Regions from separate parts of the Homo sapiens genome. Here region 2 is linked to region 1. Evidence: promoter capture Hi-C in 16 types of primary human blood cells and fetal thymus (Javierre and others, 2016). All regions are on one chromosome and are shown on one strand. The core of a region is centred on a gene start or on the middle of the fragment in contact, and the rest is flanking DNA. Distances in the headings are between cores, read along the strand shown. Region 1 holds the start of CCL20 (C-C motif chemokine ligand 20). Region 2 overlaps DOCK10 (dedicator of cytokinesis 10).

Region 1 (4,450 bases), core at 900-3,399:
GGACTGCTTTTGCTACATCCTATAAGTTTTGATATGTTGTGGACTTTTTTTTACATTTCAAAGTTGTTTTCTACTTTCTCTAGTGACTTTTCTTTTGACACATTGTTGTTGTTGTTGTTGTTTTTTCCTTTGAGATGGAGTCTCTGTTGGCCAGGTTAGAGGGCAGTAGCGTGATCTCGGCTCGCCGTAACTTCTGCTTCCTGGGCTCATGCGATTCTCCTGCCTCAGCCTCCCAAGTAGCTGGGATTACAGGCATGGACTACCACACCCGGCTAATATTTGTATTTTTAGTAGAGACAGGGTTTCACTATGTTGGCCAGTCTGGTCTCGAACTCCTGACCTCAGGCAGTCCACCCACCTCGGCCTCCCAAAATGCTAGGATTACAGGCATGAGCCACCACTCCTGGCCAGACACATTGGTTATTTAGGAATATGTGGTTTCCTTTCTGTCTGTTACTGATTTCTGATTTAATTCCATTGTGGTTTGAATGTATACTTTATGTGATTTCAGTCGGTTTACATTTACTGAGACTTGTTCCATAACCTACCATATGCTTTATCCTAGAGAACATTCCATGTGCAACTATTCTGTTGATGTTGGATAGAGTAGTCCTTCGATGCCTGCTAAGTCTATTTGGCTTATAGTGTTGTTCAAGTCTTCTATTTTCTTGTGGATCTTCTGCCTAAATTTTATTAATTAGTGAAAATGTGGTACCAAAGCTGTCAACTTTTATTGTTAAATTTCCTATTCTGCTGGGCACGGTGGCTCATGCCTGTAATGAGGTCAGGAGTTCAGCCTGGGCAACATGGTGAAACCACGTCTCTACTAAAAATACAAAAATTCGCTGGGCGTGGTGGCACGTGCCTGTAGTCCCAGCTACTCAGGAGGCTGAGGCAGGCGAATCGCTTGAACCCAGGAGGCGGAGGTTGTAGTGAGCCGAGATGGTGCCACTGCACTCCAGCCTGGGCAACAAGAGCAAAATTCTGTCTCAAAAGAAATTATAATAATAAAATAAAATAAAATTTCCTATTCTTCCCTTCAATTCTGTCAGTTTTTGCTTTCTGTAGTTTGGGGTGCTACTGTTAGGTATATATATGGTTATAGGTTTTACATCTTCCCAATGGGTTAATTTTGTGTTACCATGAAAGTCCCTTTTTATTTCCGGTAACATTAAAAAAAAATCTATTTTGTCTGATATAGGCATCACCAACTCCAGTTCTCTTTTGTTTACTGTTTGGTATACCTTTCTTTTGATCCTTTTACTTTCAACCTATTTGGGTCTAGTGGAGAGTTCTTATACTGCCTTAGGTTAGGGATTCATATTACATTATCATCATTAGTACTGTTATTTGACATTTGCTGTGCTGACTAGCTACTGCTGATAGGTTTTCTTTCCTCAACAATTCTGAGGCTCTATATTGAGTTATATTAGTACATCATCATGGAGAGTTAAAGGTAGGTAAGGATTATTTTCTGAACTGCAATATTGATTAAAGCCATGTGAATGTATAAGATTCTTAGAAGAGTTGACATTAAATCAAGGTGAAGCTGAGGTTTGAGCCTTACTTAAAGGCTGATATTTTCCACTCTAACTGCGGACAGTACTGTAGCACTGTTATAGTACCTGCTCTGAATGTTAGTCTAGCAACTCAGGGTCTTCTTCATGACAGCTGAACCTCAACCATGTGATGGTAAATGTGTAGCAGAGTATGCCTGGCATCCCACCTGCTCCTCCTCCCCCTCCTCCTTGACTGGTTCTGGAAAGCAAATAGGGTGTAACAATAGGAGTTCTGGAATGTTCCTGTGTGGGGCTGACCTTTGTATCGCTGTTAATCCTCTATTTTCAGACACAAAAATGATTAAGTTAAAACTGGATGAAAGTCTTTTCTGGGTCACAGGGCTGAGCTGCTTTTGCTCTTTGCAAATACAAAGAATTTAACAGGATTCTCCCCTTCTCAACTTCCTGTCCCCCACCCTGACCTTCGCACCTTCCCAATATGAGGAAAAAGCAGGAAGTTTTCCTTGCGGGTTTTTTTTATGATGACATGATGGGGCCAGTTGATCAATGGGGAAAACCCCATGTGGCAACACGCCTTCTGTGTACATTCCCAATATTTGCTATAAATAGGGCCATCCCAGGCTGCTGTCAGAATATAACAGCACTCCCAAAGAACTGGGTACTCAACACTGAGCAGATCTGTTCTTTGAGCTAAAAACCATGTGCTGTACCAAGAGTTTGCTCCTGGCTGCTTTGATGTCAGTGCTGCTACTCCACCTCTGCGGCGAATCAGAAGGTAAGTGTCGCTCTTTCCGCTAGCACAGAAGAAAGACTATTTTCATTTTCCTTTTAGCCTTGAGCTCAACTGGGGGTCCCTAAGGGATGGAAAACTGTTAGGAAGTATACAAGAGGTAGTGATGGAAGTTGTCTGCCCATGGTGGAGTGGAGGAGAGAAGAGTTACTGCTGCGGATCAGGCTTTCCTCTCTGCTGTCAATCTCAGCAGATTTGGGGAGTGGTGGGCTCTTAGAGATCCCTAAACTTCAGGATAAAGCCAAAGTGATGTTTCTGGGAGTGATATAAAGTGTGTAATGTTACCAGTAGATGGGGCCATTTTGAAATGTAGAGAATCCTCCTGTGTCCCCAACTTTCGTACCTCCCAACTTAATAGTTTTGGTAAAGTTCAAAACTCATCCTTTAGAAGTAGATTATAATACCTGACATCAACATCCCCACAAGGCATGGGGGACATTGCTTGCCAACTTTAAAATAACATTAATCCCTTACCTTACAGCATGTTGTAATCTGACTCGGGAATGTCCAAGTATTGCTTTATTGCTCAATAGTCACACAACACTTTTAGCAACAGGTGCATTCCTAAAAATGCACATTGAATTTTTTTTTTTTTCTGAGGCAGGGTCTAACTTCATCACCCAGGCCAGAGTGCAGTGGCATGATTACAGCTCACTACAGCCTCAACCTCCTGGAGTCAAGTGAACCTCCAGTCTCAGCCTCTTGAATAACAGGGACCACGGCCGTGTGCCACTCACCTGGCTAATTTTTTTACATTTTTTTTTTTTTTGTAGAGACAGGGTTTCACTGTGTTGCCCAGGCTGGTCTCGAACTCCTGGAGGCAAGCAATCCTTCCTCCTTGGCCTCCCAAAGTGCTGGGATTACAGGCATGAGCCACCATGCCCAACCACATGTTGAACTTTTATGAACAAAATTAAACATTCCTATTAATTAATAGGACAATTTCAAAGTGTTTTCACTCCTATAAATCATATTTCCCTTTGTAGCTCTATTTCTCAATACTTAGTAGCCAGATAATAGATTAAAATCTGCCAATTTATTCATTTTCTGCTTTTGGAAGTTTATCTACATAAGGGTTCCTTCAAGCAGTAGGGAAGGGGCTGCTCATATTCTTGAATGATTATAGTGAACTGAAATGAAATATTGTCAATTTGTATTTCTTACTGAAGATATCCCACTTATGAGAAGTCCTGTGTTTCTCAATTCTATTATTGAACCAAAACTTCTCGGCACACAAACTGTTTTTTCAAAGAACTGTAAACTATGTTAGATTGGTTCTCAACGACCTTACAAAGGTTTCCAAGACATTGAAACTCCTCCTCTAAGTGGTTTATTCGTCATATACATGAGATTCACTAGATTTTTCACAACTTAAGGTAGTTTTATAATACCAATCACAGGATAAGTTTATTCATGTGGATCCAATACCTTTCACTTTTTTTTTTTTTTAGCAGCAAGCAACTTTGACTGCTGTCTTGGATACACAGACCGTATTCTTCATCCTAAATTTATTGTGGGCTTCACACGGCAGCTGGCCAATGAAGGCTGTGACATCAATGCTATCATGTAAGTTATTAATTGATTTTAATTCAGTTGTATCAGGAATACCTAGAAACTTCAGTTTTAAAAATGTTTGCCTTTTTAGAGTTTCATTCAGAAATTACTGATGTTTTGAACATAAGATCTTATTTTAAAGAGAAAGAAATGATGTGGCAAAGATAGCTTTGTCTTAGTACATATCTACTTTAAAGTTCACTTTAAACAGGACTGGAATAAGGCAAAACCTTTTTTAAAAATTTTTTTTGGTCAAACGGAACTAGTATAGGGCAAAAATCACTTTCTAAGGCTATTAAAGTGATATATTAGGAAAATAGGGAAGATACACATTTCGAAATGAGCATCTTCTACCAGAAAGTGTTTGAGACCAAAAGTAAAATCTCAGACTAATTATACTATCACATATAATTTTCTTGATTTATATAGGATATTATATTTTGGAATTATACAAGTTATTGATCAGATACATACATATTCTATGTAACCACCAATAGCAAAATTATATGACAATTCTGGGACTTTATCTTCCTGCCATTGTACTATTATTTGTTACATTGCAGAGAAAGAGAGAATCACTTTGATT
Region 2 (4,454 bases), core at 81-2,580, 2.8 Mb before region 1:
CTGTGAGGGCCTGCCTCCTGGTTCACAGATGGCATCTCCTTGGTTTGTCCTCACATGGTAGGAGGAGCAAATGAGCTCCCTTGAGCCTGTTTCGTAAGGGCACTAATCCCACTCCTGAGGGCTCTGCCCTCATGACCTAACCATCTTCCATAAGGCCCCACCTCCTAATACCACCGTCTAAGGAGTTAGGATTTCAACATGTGAATCTGGGGGGAGATGGTAAGGCGACACACATAAGCAACCCATAGCCAAGAGAGAGGGAGCGTAATTCAGTCAGGGGGATTCCATATGGCTTCTCAGAGTCTAAGCTATTTGACCTGGGCCGTGAAGGATGAATAAATGACACTTGGGAGGAAAAGTGAGTTAGAGTATTTCAAATGTGAAAGGCTATGTGGCTCACGAAGGCATCTGACTTTTGAAGGCCGATACCACTTGTTTACCTGATGCTAAACTCTCCCTATATTAGCACTGCCCCCTGCTGTCCATTGTGAGAAGAGGTCTGAAAGGACAAATGCATCCTTTTTGCCATTTTGCCCTTTAAAAATGAACAGACTGTCATCCTCAATATCACTTATTTGTAGTATCATTTCTTCAAGTTTCCATTACCAAGTGGCATGCTGAATAAAAGCAGGCACAGACCAAGAACAGCAATGACAACACGGCTTTCTCAGTGAGTTTACATAGATGTAAGCCTGATTCCACCTCTTAGGGTCCTTTATTGATAGATAAGTCATACATTTCTTTGGCCTCAGTAGTTGAGATTTAGTCAGCTCTTCAGCTCTCTTTAACTGTTAACTGATGAGAATATTTGGAGACAGAAAATGTCTCAGTGACTCCTCATCATAGTGAGACAATGGCCACGCCATGCCACGAGGAGCTAGTTGCATGGGCAGGCAGGTGTAAACATCCACATATGCAGAAAGAAAAAAGCCAGCAGCTGGCATCTCGTCACCCACAGCTTCCAGAAACAGTCTGGAATGTTGTTGGATGCTCAACACTGCAGAATTGGTATGAACCACATCAGTGTGGTCTGTCTTGCATGATCGGGCAGGTGTAAACATCCACATATGCAGAAAGAAAAAAGCCAGCAGGTGGCATCTCGTCACCCACAGAATGTTGTTGGTCGCTCAACACTGCAGAACTGGTATGAACCACATCAGTGTGGTCTGTCTTGGGGCAGACAGCAAGAACCGAGAAATGACCAGGGTAAATTCTGAGAGTGACAAATTCCATCTCTATTTGAGAATGGGAAGGAATTTGAAGGTTACATTTTTATTTTTATTTTATTCTATTTTAGAGACAGGGTCTCACTTTATCACCAGGCTGGAGTGCAGTGGCATGATCTCAGCTCACTGCAGCTTCGACTTCCTGAGCTCAAGTGATGCTCCCACCTCAGCCTCCCGAGTAGCTGGGACTATGTGTGTACCACCACACCTGGCTAATGTTTGTATTTTTAGTAGAGGCAGGATTTCACCATGTTGCCCAGGCTGGTCTTGAACTCCTGGACTCAAGTATGCATCTGCCTCGGCTTCTCAAAGTGCTGGGATTACAGGTGTAAGCCACCGTGCCTGGCTGGAAGGTTACATTTTTCAGTTTGAGTTTTGGGTAAACATCCCCATGGAGATCCTAAGTTCACTGATGGTGGTGTGGGACCTTTTATGATTCCACTAGAATGCTGATCTTGGGAGTAGAATTCTCCTTAGAACCGTGGCTGATGCAACTCGAATCAGAAGAAAGACCCACAATCTGGAAATCCTGACACTTTCCTGAGTGTGTTGACTTCATGTTTGACTGAATGAACCTTTTGTTCAAAAAAGGCAAATCTAAAACACAGACATACGCTTCACTTCTTTTAGTTTCAAATTAAAAGTTTTATCTAATAGTAGTATTTGTTCAAAATTTTACAAGGTAACATTGTTGATGTTTCATTAGCATCCCTGATCCCTAATGGCCATCCTATCTCTTAAACCACAAGAAATATTGTCTCTTTAAAGTCCATAATGTGCATTTACACTGATAAAATAAGGCCAGTGACTCCCAAGCTGCTTTGGGGAAAGAGGCCATCTTTTCTCTGTGTGACTTGTTCAGTGGCAATTGGAGTTTTACATCTGCTCTACAGGTCCAATCATAATAGAGCTCACTGTTATGTTAAATGTAGTTAGGTCTATCAAAATGTTAATAAACATGATAATGACAAACTAAGGAGATAGTTATCATAAAATGATGATAACATTTCTTGACTGTGTCGTATGTGCTCAGCATTTTCTCGTTTCGTTTTGTCTGTGATGTAAGTATCATGATCATTCCTTGCAGTGGGTTGCAAAGTGGCTCCCCCAAAGATATGCCCATATCCCAATCACTGGAACTCATGAATGTGACCTTATTTGGAAAAAGGCTCTTTGCAGATGAGTTAAGCCTTTCAAGATGAAATCCTCTTGGATTATTTAAGCTGGCCGTAAATCCAATGAAAAGTGTTCTTATGAGATAGCAGAGGAAAAGACACAGAGAGAAAAGGAAGAAAAGGTGGGAAAGACATATGAAGACGAAGGCAGAGACTGGAGTTGTGTGGCCACAGGCCAAGGCATTCTTGGAGCCACCAGAAACTGGAGGAGGCAAGGCAGGATTTGCCCCTAGAACTTTTAGAGGGAGTGTGGCCCTGCTGACTTGATTTTGGACTTCTGGCCTGTAAGAATAAATATCTATTGTTGTCATAAGCCACTTAAGTTATGCTCATTTGTTATGGTGGCCCTAGGAAACTAGTGCATCCTTATTTTGAAGTTGAGAAACTGGAAGCTCAGAGAGGTTAAATAACTTCCCAGAGCCACAGAGCTAGCCTTAAGAAATGGGGGAGCTGTGTTTGAATTGACATCCTTCTGACTCAAGCACCTGTGCTCTAGGCATGAAGCCACATGTCGGCTTAATAATTCAGAGAGCATTTGTTTTCCTAAGACAGAACCAAGGATGTGAAGAGTGTGCTGATGCAATTTCAGAGCAGGCTCTCCCAGCAGCTTCCTGCTTCCAGAATGCATTTTTTGCATTAAAAAAGCCATTAGAGTTTGTCCATCAGCAATTCAGTCCACGTGTGGCTCAGCCTCCCAGCTCAGGGATAAGGTAGTTCTATACTTGGCCCCCAAAGGCCTTGCTTTATTTCTCTAATCATAAGTATGATTGTCTTGACTCATGCTGGGCAATAATACAATGGAGAATGAACATTAAATTAAATCTATAAAGAGCCTAAAATCAATCAACCCCTTCATGAAACTAATTTTAGAAAAGAGGTCATTAGATATATTAGAGGCAATTTGAAAGTTAACTGAGAAATGAGACCTCATGTTCTCTTTGGAAAAAAACCTTTTTGTCATGAGATAGATAGAATTTGTACTTCCATCAGAGTAGTACAGCTGCCACAAAAACCCTACAAATCTCTAGGAGTCAAAATGGTGATTTTATGCTTCAAGTACAGCAGATTACCACTGTTATCCCATATACATGGATAATGGCAAACAACTTTCTATTCTCCATGGGCCATCAAACCACCTCTCAGCAATGTAAGGACATGATTTCAATCATTGGTGAATTCAGAAGAGGAGAAAAGCCATCTTCAAAATATGTACAGTTTTTGTAATTCTAATTGGATTTTATACTAGAGCAGTGTTAACTGAATGTCAGTTATTCATGTCCCACCATCTTGATTTTTGCCAAATCATAGTATTACCTGTTAGTATATACTTAACAAAATCCTTTTAATCAATGACTACCTTTTTTCCATAAAATTTCATTTTAAACTAAAACTGTATTCTTTGACGTAAACAGGACAACAGTATCACTTGTAAAAAACAGAATAACTGAAAGTAATGGTATAATACAAGGACAAAATTAAATAAATGTTGCCATTCAGTTTTAGTTCAATGTTGTTGTCTACCAAAGTTTCTAAGCCCAAGCCCACTCGGTCTTTGTGTGAAGGGGAAGAATTGCAAATATTAGGCAAGCGTTATGGACAAACTAATGTTAAATTGAGACTTTATCCTCAGTGTAATCTGAAGTTTGAAAGATAACTGAAACAAAATCTTCCACACAATATGATCCAATGTTATTTAAAGCTGTGTATGAAACCACCCAAAATAATTTAGAGATTATCCATGTGTCTAATTTAACAAAGTCAAGAGAGAGCTGATGCTCACTGCCAAAGACCACCCTCTAGGGTGTACAAAAACATCTTGGAGGTTTTTATTAGGTGCCTCATGAAATAGAGTGGAAAGAGTGAAGATGGGTATTAATATTTTTTGGAGGGGTGAGTATGGATAGGTGAGGTAATTTTCTAGGCAGAGCAAACACATTATAAATATATTTTAAATATTTGACCAATACGAAAACCATCTTCATTCTTCTCCCCACCTTTACTTTATGGACTGTTTCCATACCTTCCATTTATGGCCATCTTAGTTTGAGTGGCA

The links. Contacts are between HindIII fragments. The CHiCAGO score rates a contact against its expected background, and 5 or more counts as called.
Region 2: a contact is called between a fragment that was not itself captured here and the fragment with the promoter of CCL20 in region 1, in 1 of 17 cell types (M0 macrophages). The highest score is 5.5, in M0 macrophages.

The regions. Positions count from the first base shown.
Region 1 is chr2:227,811,693-227,816,142 of GRCh38, forward strand. It overlaps CCL20 (C-C motif chemokine ligand 20), which reads left to right and starts at 2,150. Exons shown (of 4, transcript NM_004591.3): 1 at 2,150-2,295; 2 at 3,762-3,876. The coding sequence starts at 2,220. The HindIII fragment of the contact is 16,817 bases long and covers 1-4,450 here.
Region 2 is chr2:225,001,770-225,006,223 of GRCh38, forward strand. All of the region lies in intron 1 of DOCK10 (dedicator of cytokinesis 10), which reads right to left. Among named protein-coding and RNA genes, the nearest start is that of MIR4439, 6.5 kb to the right of the region's middle. The HindIII fragment of the contact is 6,368 bases long and covers 1-4,454 here.